Linked DNA regions of Homo sapiens: all the other regions are linked to region 2. The links are contacts of gene promoters, found by promoter capture Hi-C in human tissues and cell types (Jung and others, 2019). All regions are on one chromosome and are shown on one strand. The core of a region is centred on a gene start or on the middle of the fragment in contact, and the rest is flanking DNA. Distances in the headings are between cores, read along the strand shown. Region 1 has its middle 46 kb from the start of AADACL2. Region 2 holds the start of AADACL2 (arylacetamide deacetylase like 2). Region 3 overlaps AADACL2-AS1 (AADACL2 antisense RNA 1).

Evidence for each region. The method cuts DNA at HindIII sites, captures the fragments that hold promoters and counts their contacts. A contact is called where the count stands out against the background at its distance.
Region 1: a contact is called between a fragment that was not itself captured here and the fragment with the promoter of AADACL2 in region 2, in 1 of the 25 tissues and cell types used here (mesenchymal stem cells).
Region 3: a fragment that was not itself captured here is called in contact with the fragment with the promoter of AADACL2 in region 2 in 2 of the 25 tissues and cell types used here (H1 embryonic stem cells and liver).

Annotation. Positions count from the first base shown.
Region 1 is chr3:151,686,247-151,689,818 of GRCh38, reverse strand. No RefSeq gene overlaps it. Among named protein-coding and RNA genes, the nearest start is that of AADACL2, 46 kb to the left of the region's middle. The HindIII fragment of the contact is 4,948 bases long and covers 1-3,572 here.
Region 2 is chr3:151,732,351-151,735,753 of GRCh38, reverse strand. It overlaps AADACL2 (arylacetamide deacetylase like 2), which reads right to left and starts at 1,827. Exons shown (of 5, transcript NM_207365.4): 1 at 1,581-1,827. The coding sequence starts at 1,718. The HindIII fragment of the contact is 19,032 bases long and covers 1-3,403 here.
Region 3 is chr3:151,780,033-151,783,460 of GRCh38, reverse strand. All of the region lies in intron 1 of AADACL2-AS1 (AADACL2 antisense RNA 1), which reads left to right. It also overlaps the pseudogene AADACP1. Among named protein-coding and RNA genes, the nearest start is that of AADAC, 32 kb to the left of the region's middle. The HindIII fragment of the contact is 5,160 bases long and covers 1-3,428 here.

The DNA.
Region 1 (3,572 bases), core at 401-2,900, 46 kb after region 2:
AAGCCAAGGTTTACCATCAGATTGTGCCTGTCATATCTGTACAAGTTGGATGAATTTCTATTTTCTTGAGGTCCCAAAACATCTTGAATTTCCTGGGCCTGTCAGGAAGTGACATTACTTACTGCAAGGTTGAGAACCTCATAAGGGAACCATGTATACAGGTTAGGAGGCCAGTCTTTTCAAACTCTACTGGCTCTATAAAGTCAACTTCAATCCCTCAAAGCAATCTGGCCATATCTGAAAAGATGCCATTCCAGTCAAAGCGTTGGTAAAAATAGCCAATGTTTCCAATGCGTCCTGTTATAAAAGGAAAACAGATTATTGTTGAACTTATAGAAATAACTATATTGCCATAAAACAAGAATACTCACTAATAGTTTCCGAATTCTGGAGGGATGAGGTGGGAAGAAGAAGTAAATGTTTCCATTTTTGTTTACTAAAGTAAACTTTACCAAGTTGCTGTAAGCTATGAACAGCTTAAAAGAAAAAAAAGTTTTTTTAGGTCTGGAAAACAAAACAATCAAAGAACCAGCAGTGTTTGAAATAATGTCATGTCATTAGAAATGTCAGTCCTTCATCAGTTCAGTCCCATGTAATTAATTATTGTTCTGATTGATGTTGGATTAATAATCTTCATAAACCCACCAGTTTTTCATTAGAGGTCTGAATTTTTAAATCTAGTCCAATGGTATGATCTCCAAAGTTATCAGAAATCTATATTCAAGAGTTCTTGTCGTGGTTCTTTTCATAAATTTTCTTGAAGACACAACACTTTAGGATTTGCAAAGAACTTTTAAAGGAAAATAAAGCATCAGAATAAAGTAATTTACTGTGCTTACCAAGACACAGCAGAATTTTTGTTTGAAATCTCATGCAATTTTGGAACACATATTAATTACATATTCATACAAATATAATTCAAAGTATTTCAAACACTATTTCATATTTGACAATGCTTCCCATATAATTTTAACATCCCAGTAAGCCTAATGTGTCCCTCTTGGACTTCCTTTTTTTGAATGTCCAATAGTTAGTTCAAGATCAACAAACCTAATTTTAGACTTTGAAATTTGATTTTGGAAAGCCTTCCAAATGTGTCAAAGGTTTAAAAAAGACTTGATTTCAAAGTAGACTGATTACTATGAAATAACAGTCATTCATTTAGTCAAAGTGATAATTCAAAAATTCCAAAAGCCAAAACGTTTACCTTTTAATAGAGAGGGAATTCAGTTTTCCAAACAATCAAAAGACGTAATAAAGACAGTATCAGACCAACAGAATCTGTCTCTTCCTTTCTCTTTTGTTTTTACGGTTTACTGAAAAGGTAAATTAAAAATCCTTTATTATTTCTTATTAATACTATTGAAATTTTGTATAATTAATGCTAAAGCTAATTTTAATAAAATGTTATAAACAGATCCATCCAATCTCAATCAGCTTTGAATATACAAGATAAGATTTTCATAAATCTTTTATAACTTATTATAATTTTTCTATTCCTTTTCACTACTTTCTATATTTCTATATTCAGTTATCATTCTATTCTTTTATTCCTTGAATATAATACAACCTTTACATAACCTTTAAAAGGGCAAACTTACTTTTTGTTTAACAAAAAACACATCTTCATGTCTTTCTTATAATCTTCCTTACCAAAGACACATCTTATTTTCTCATACTTTCTGTATATGGAATTATTTCTCTTTTTACATCTAGTTGCAGTTAACATGTAATAGCCAGAATTTTAACTCTTAATAACTCAATTCATAGTGAAAACCTAAGAAATAAGCAATTTTTAACTGTCGGTCACATGCCAAGAATTTATGAATAAAAATTTTATAATATTTGAAAACACAGGCTTTCTAATTTAACAATTTTTTTAATGTGGAAAAGGACTTTTTACTAATAGATCAAAATAACTTTTGTTTCTCTGAAATAATAAGTCAAAAGCATAAATACTTAAGCTCATAATTAATTATTAATGTCTTGGAATTATATCTTATATGGAAGTGATTTAGATATTCAACTGTTAGAGTAGGTAGCTTAGGCAGACATGAGCAGGGCAGGAGAGCCCACCCATCATGCCAGGAATGGCAAGAGACCATCATGTGATGGTCAGGTGGTTGTTAAACTGTCTCTCTAAAATAATTGGTCAAGTTGGTACTAGGGAAAGGCAGTCTCCCAATAGATAGAAAGCACCTGAAGCTGGTGATTACCAGCTTCCTGGTAAAATCTCAGGAGTTGGGCAAGTGGGCGTATGCATGCACATTAAGAGGTAAAATGATGGAGTTTAACTGGTGTCTAACCCTCCTTTGGGAATACTCAACTAGTAAGGGAAAAATGCCTTAGATGAGCATGCACACAACTTCAGTAAACGTACTGCACATGCAGCTCCTCCTAAGTGCTAGCAGGCCACTGCACATGCGGACAGCCCATCTCAAGAGAAGAATCAGGGAGAAGAAATGCAAAGCCCAGAATCTTGCCAATGTATAAAACCCCAAGTCGAAGGTTGGACAGAGCACTTGGATCTCGCTAGTCTCCTGCTTGGCCCTTTTCCAAGTGTACTTTACTTCCTTTTGTTCCTGCTCTAAAAGTTTTTAATAAACTTTCACTCTTGCTCTAAACCTTGTCTGTCTCTCACCCTGCCTTATGCTCCTTGGCTGAACTCTTCCTTCTGAGAAGGCAAAAATCGAGTTGCTGCAGACCTGTACAGATTCACCACTGCTAAAACAACAAATATTCATCATTTAATATAGCTTAGCAAAATTCTGAGGGTATAGTTATTAAAAATATTTGAAAAACCATTTTAAGCAAACGTATTATAAAACATAATTATTGTTAAAAGTTAATTTATAACTTTTATTCATTCTTGACAGTTGTTTGGAAATTTTCATGTTAGACAAATACAGCCATTATCTCAAGTTAAATTTCCTATTTGCCATTTTTATGTTACTGTTTGTTAGGCAAGTATGAAAAAAGCGAGAACTTTGAAGTTAAATATGTATATTTTCTGGATAACTCAGAGGACGTAGTTGTTTTATTAAAATAACAATACTAAACTACTTTAGTTTAATAGCAACCGTATTTACCAAAAGAGTTATTCAACTCACGTGAACCTGAAAAGCATTTGGGCATATTAATTTATGAGTGCTTATTTATTTATAAGTCAATTTAGTACCATACTGGTAATAAACCATTGCAGATGCTGACCATGGGTGAAAATGCAACCTTCACTCACGAAGCGGGAAGGCATAGCTGGCAGGAATATTCACTCTCCTACATAGTGCCAAAGCCTCCCACTGTCATTAACCTTTGAGTTCCCTAGACCTCATCTATGCCATGCATATGAGTGAGACCTCCAACCACAAAGTGGGAGAGCCTAATCAGCAGGAATTAGTCATGCTCACCTACACTGTGCCCCAAGCTTCCGCTGTTGTCTGCCTCTGGGTCCCTCAGACTAGTACCATGAAGACAATATGCAAACATAGACCTGTACACATGTATACATAAAATAAAAAGGTTTTATAGCTTTGATTTTTAAATTTTAGCCATGAGAAAAGTAAAACTCATTA
Region 2 (3,403 bases), core at 578-3,077:
AGGAGTCTTGCTCTGTCATCCAGGCTAGAGTGCAATGGCACGATCTCAGCTCACTGCAACCTCCGCCTCCTGGATTCAAGTGATTCTCCTGCCTCAGCCTCCCCAGTAGCTGGGATTACAGGCGTGCACCACAACAGCTGGCTAATTTTTGTATTTTTAGTAGAGATGGGGTTTCCCCATGTTGGCCAGGCAGGTCCTGAACTCCTAGCCTCAGGTGATCTACCTGCCTTGGCCTCCCAAAGTACTGAAATTACAATCGTGAGCCACCATGCTAACCCTTATAATTTAAAGACGAGGAAGTATGCAGAAACTCTAAGTTGTAGCCAGTAAATGTCAAAGCCAAGTCTGCATCCATTTAAACCAGCATCTTATGCTACTACTTACTAGCTGATAGACATTGAGAAAATTACTCTCTGTAGCTCAATTTCCTTGTCTATATGACAGTAATAATAATACTTCAGTGGGTTGTAGTAGGGTTTAAACAAGTTAATGCCCTGAGATACAAATTAGATAATCAAGAAAGGGAGCATAGTATTTTCTCTGTGGAAGTGACACTTGCTTACCCACTTATGCTTACTCAAGAAGTAAGAGCATTGGAGAAAATTTATGGAGAAGGTAAGCCTCTAGAAGTGATTACAGGGGAAACTATTAGCAGACATCAGAAGGAGTTGACTGTGGTTTCACAAAGCAAATATACTGTTTGCTGTACAAAGCATCATAAGACAGCCTCTTCTTTTTATACCATGGGTTGCTCTCTTTTTTTCTGATCATCTTCTGTGGCCTTCTCCTTTGAGCCTCTTATTGTTACCCTTTCTGGAAGCTGTCTGGCTTGGCAGAAAGAGTATGGGTTTCAAAATGAGACAGTTTATAGTTCAAATTATGGAGTTGTTACTTTTTACCTGCATATGTTCTTCTCAATCTCTTCCCCAACCCCATAACCTGATAAAAATAATTGCAGGATAGCGGGGAATCAATGGAAGTACATATTATACAAAGCCTATACAACTTAAGAACTCAAAAATATTAGTTTCTAACCCTATCTCTCCCTTTTAAAGGAGCTATTTTTGCATGAATTTATAATTCATTCTGCACATGCCAAGTCAGATAATGCCTGAAAACCAGCAATTTAGAATTGAAGATGGACAATGAAAGCCATTAAATAATAAGAGCCTTAAATTAATATCAAAGAGTTACAAATATCAATAATGTGTATCTAAACAACTAAAAGATAATTACAGGACTAGGTTGTCCCTGAAAGTTCAAATTTAAGTCAAGTTCTCAAATAAACCTCAAAGCCTTTTCCTTTAGCAATACCATTTATTTTATACATGTCACAATAAATTTATTTTATACATGTCACGTTTAGACATAAAGTCTTAGAATTGAGAATTCTGTCTCACTGTTACTCACAGATATAGGGAGTTTTATTTACTTAATGTTGTTTAATTAATTTACTCAAACAAGCAATGGTTCTTTCAAAATGGTGATATTAATACTATTAATAAAAGAGTTCATAAGCACCCATTTTTAGTCAATAAGTCATCCCAATTTCCAACAGAAAAAATAAATGTTAACCTTACCGTAAATGTACAAGTTTTAGCGATGGCATCCAAGGCCATTATTTTCCAGCTTTCTTCAATGTTGTCTGGCATGGGTGTGTAAAAATGAGAGACAAAAAGAACACAAAGCAGCCCCAAACAGAGAGCTTTTAGCCCCATAATATCCCTTTTTCCAGCTTCTTCACAGTACTGAGATTAAAATTTTTCACAAACACTGAATAGTAACTAGTAGAGCAATTGTAGACTTGGGAACTCTCTCAGGTGATATGATCATCTTAACAACATGAAGCTAATTTTCAATTCAAATGTTACAGTGTCAGTAGTAACTTGTTTTGCAAGCACACAGACTGGAACAGATCTCATAATTCATGAGGGCGTGCATGCATTATTATCATGCAATGTAATACTCTTACAGTGTTTCTTCACCCTGTGATACCATCATCAGCCCAAAACAACTTTATTATTGAGACTTAAACCTAAATGAAACCTAAATGAACCTAAATGACAGCACTGAATAAGTCATGAAGTAAATTTTTGTGATTGGGTGGTGGTTGCAACATATTTTAAGAACAGGTTTTTTTTTTTTAGCTTGCTGATATTAAGTCAAAATCCAGGCTAATGCCATTATCATGGATTATTAAACATGTTAACAAAACTTTCTTGTGGTGAAACAAGTTTTGGATTAAAAAACAAGGAATGAGGCAACTTGTCCGAGTTCTATTAAGCATCAAACTAGAATTTTTCCATAGACTAAGCCTGGAAGCTCAGTGCAATTATCTGTTTTCTTAGAGGATTACATAGTATGATGATGAACTTTATGTGTCAATTTGACTGAGCTAAGGGATGCTTGTGAACAGTAAATAGCTTGTAAAAAAGTATTTCTAGGTATGTCTTTGAGAGTGTTTCTGGAAAAAATCAGCATTTGAACTGGTAGAGTGAATGAAGAAAATCACCTTCCCCAGTGTGGGTGGGCAGAATCCAATCCATTGATGGACTGAACAGAACAAAAATGTGAAGGAAAGGTAAATTCACTCTCTTCTTGGGCTGGGACATTGTTGTAACGCTAATTCATATTAGTGCTGCCTCAGCACCACCTTCTTGGTCCGTCCCCAGCTTGTCACAAATGTCCTACATATTTTGAGACAGTCTCCACCCAGTTTCTGTTTCAACATAGATGTGGTCCCATTTGCTGCCTTATTTTTGCTTTAAGTCTGGTGAACACAATCATGTAACCCAAGTTCTCACACTTAAACTCATGCTTCCTTCAAATTAACCAATCCAACTCTGTTGTGGAAAACCCATCTAGGTAATCCTGAACCCCAATAAAGGGTTCTACCCATAGGTCCCTCCATCTCTCACTTGCTTTTCATCTGCTGGGTGAGAGACAGTGTCCTTGACTGCCTCACCCTTTCCATTGGCTCTGCAAGGCATTTTACACTCCTCTTTCTGGAATCTGCAAGTAATTGTAGTCTAATTGTGCTGTACCTGACTACACCAAACCTAACTTAAATTCTTCTTCACTTAACAAACCACAACAGACATCCATCTTCTCCTGCCCTTGGATATCAGAGCTCCTAGTTCCTATGCCCTTAGACTCTGAAACTCACACCAGACACCACCTCCCTGCTCCCAGTTCTCAGGTCTTCAGACTCAGACTGGTTTTATAGAACATTAACTTTCCTGGTTCTGGTTCTCCACCTTATATACAGCATACTGTGGGACTTCTTTGCCTAGATAATTGCATGGGCCAATTTACACTTTTTTATATATATATACACACACACACACACACACACATATGCATATATACATGCTAATATATGGATAGAGACACACATTTATAT
Region 3 (3,428 bases), core at 316-2,815, 48 kb before region 2:
ACCCCGTCTCTACTAAAAATAGAAAAATTAGCCAGCATGGTGGCACACGCCTGTAATCCCAGCTACTGGGGAGGCTGAGGCAGGAGAATCGCTTGGACCTGGGAGGCAGAGGTTGCAGTGAGCCGAGATTGTGCCACTGCACTCCAGCCTGGCCAACTGCACTCCAGCCTGGGTGACAAAGCAAGACTCCGTCTCAAAAACAAAAAACAAAAAACAAAAAACAAAAAAAAAAAAAAAGAAAAAGAAAAGGATCAAATAACTAAGAATTCTAATTTGGCTTTAACACTGAACGAATTAGTTCTGAGTAAGTCCTATAGTCCCTCTGTGAAACAGGTGGGTCAGATTGATTTGTTTTCTAAATGGGAGTATTCCAAGTGTGTTCTTTCTCTTCATGCTGCAATCATCTGTATAATTATCTTTTTTAATTTCTATAGGGCAGTGGTATCCTAATTAGAAAATAACTCTCTCAGGTGTTTTGTGGGAGATTGGGAGCCATAAATACAAAAATATTTATTAAAGTTGAGCAAGAACATATTAGGATTCTCATTCCTGCTATAAAAATCTAATTCATTTTAATTTTCATGTTTTAAATATTCAAATTATAGTGGTGTTAAGAGAAATATTATCTATAAATCAACATGCATATTTTCAGGGTGTGCTAAATGTTTCTTGTTAATGGGGTACTAAATTAGGGGAGTAGAGACCAGCAATTTGAGTTTTAAGAAGGACTTCAGGTGATTCTGATGCAAGTTAAAATTTGGGATCCACTGGTATAGGTCATAAATAGTGATTATTGAAGCTACATGCATTTGGGTGCTTCTCAGACCGAAGTTTAATGGGTAAATTGGAAGTCTATTTCTGAAAACTCGCAACAGCATTTTCTATATAGTGTTGAAGAAAGTACAGCATGCTGACATTCTTCCTTTAACATAAATATAACACTTTCTAAAAATAAAAAATAAAATAAAATATGCACATACAGCAGTAAAACCAAATAGCAGCAAATTTTATTTTATTACATTTAAAACAAAGTTAATAACGGGAACCACTTAGCAAAATAAAATATTTATAAGTCCATTAGAATATTTTTTATGTAAAAATAATTTCTGAATTTAAATAATCAGTTTAGTGTTATAGCTGAAGTAAGATTGCCACACACATTCCATTTAGCTCAATATCTAGTATGAAAGATGCTGTTTACATTAGTAGAGGTGTGGTAAATAATTAAGTAGGTAGCTAATAGGTGGCTGATTTTAGATAAGGAAAAACACAAAAATATTTTATGTTTTACCAATAAATTCAATTTTACAGGTAACTAAATCTTTGAATGTGCAGTTATTTTATTAATCCTTTATTATTAAATAAAATAAACATAGAAAATCAAGCACATAGGCTGGGCACGGTGGCTCACGCCTGTAATCCCAGTACTTTGGCAGGCCAAGGCAGGCGGATCACGAGGTCAAGAGATCGAGACCATCCTGGCCAACATGGTGAAACCCCGTCTCCACTAAAAATACAAAAGTTAGCTGGGCATAGTGGCGCACGCCTGTAGTCCCAGCTACTTGTGAGGCTGAGGCAGGAGAATTGCTTGAACCCGGGAGGCGGAGGTTGCAGTGAGCCGAGATGGCACCACAGCACTCCAGCTTGGCGACAGAGCGAGACTCCGTCAAAAAAAAAAAAAAGAAAAGAAAAGAAAGCACATAGCTTCATAAAACAGAAATGCAAAATAGAACAAATATTTGTAAGGTTCAGGGAGTTCACCATATGCCCTGAATTGATCATTTACCTTTCTTCCCTCCCAGAAATCATCACTCTTTATTTTATGGTATTTAACATTGCAAGTTTCTTTAGAATTATACCACCTGTGCGCATTTTTAATCCACGTAGGTTATCTGGTTAAGGAAATTCTATCTATTCCTAGTTAACCAATAATGATAACAATTATTGTGACTTTTCCCAAATTCTTTTTCTGCATCTAGTGAGATGCTATATCATTTTGCTTCTGTAATTTACTAATATGAGGGAAATTAACTGATTTTTATAAAATACAGTTTCCTTCCATTATTAGCAACTTGATAATGGTATATTTTGTTCATGTTGCTAATATCTTAGTTTTATGCGTGTTATTGGTTCATTGTTTTATTCCTGAAATTAATTTGCTCTTGTTTCCTGACAACAATCTGCTCTTGCTTGATTGGTTATAAAAAATATGCTTCTCTGAAAATAAATCAGAGAATATACACAGTTTTCCTATCCTCTGGCATACTTCATGTTTATTTGGAATTATTTCATCTTTGAATGTTTAACGTGTATTACCAATGAGGTTTTCTACTGGTACTGTATTTTGAGTATCTCTTATTCAAAATGCGTGGGACAAAAATGTTTCAGATTTCTGTTTTTTTTTTTTAATTTTATTTTGGAATATTTGTATCATACCTACTAGTTCAGCATCCCCAATCCAAAAAATTAATATCCAAAATGCTCTAGTTAGCATTTTCTTTGAGTGTCATATTGGTGCTCATAACATTTTACATTCTGGAGCATTTTGAATTTTGAATTTTCAAATTAGGGATATTCAACCTGTACTGATTTAATTATTTTAGTAGTTATTAAATGACTCAGATTTTTATTTCTCGTGTCTATCTGGTGAGTTATATTTTTCTTGGAATTTGATTATTTACATATTTTTCCATTTTGTTTTAATTGAAAAGTTTTTCAAAATATCTCTTTTAAGACTTACAGTGTGCATTATTAACTTATTAAAGGCTAATTCTTTTTTATTTCTGAAGGATCTACATACAATCTTACCCCTTTTTCAATTCTGTCATTAATCTGTTTCTCTCTGCTTGTCTTTCTAGAGATTTTACAATTTTATTCATCTTTTCAAAGTATTAAGTTTTTACTTTTCATTCATACTACTGAAGCTTGTTAGGAATATCATAATTTCTGATATTATCACTATTATTATCTCCTTTGTATTTTTAGGGACGTCTGTTCTTTTTTAAAAAGAATTATTGAGTCAGATACATAATTTTAGCCTTTCTTATTTTCTAATATATGCTTTTAAGGATATACAAATTCCTATAAATATTGCTCTAAATGTGGAGAACATTTAAAAGGTGTTTAAAAGATAATAAAAGCATCATAGCCCAGTACATCATCCATTTAAAAAAAAAAATCCTTGTGTGCTTGCTTGTTCCTCTGTTCTTTATACATCCATTACACGAAATGTGTTGTTATTCCAGCAGTCTTTCAGCTTACTATTATTGTTGTCTGCTTCTTATTTTAATTTTTGAAGGAGGTATCCTTAAATTTCTCGCTATCATTGTGGACTTGTGTATTTTTCCCTGCACTTCTGTTAATATTTTCTTCATTTATTTTAAGGCCATATTATTAAATCCACGCAGATTTAGGGTGTTGTATTTTCT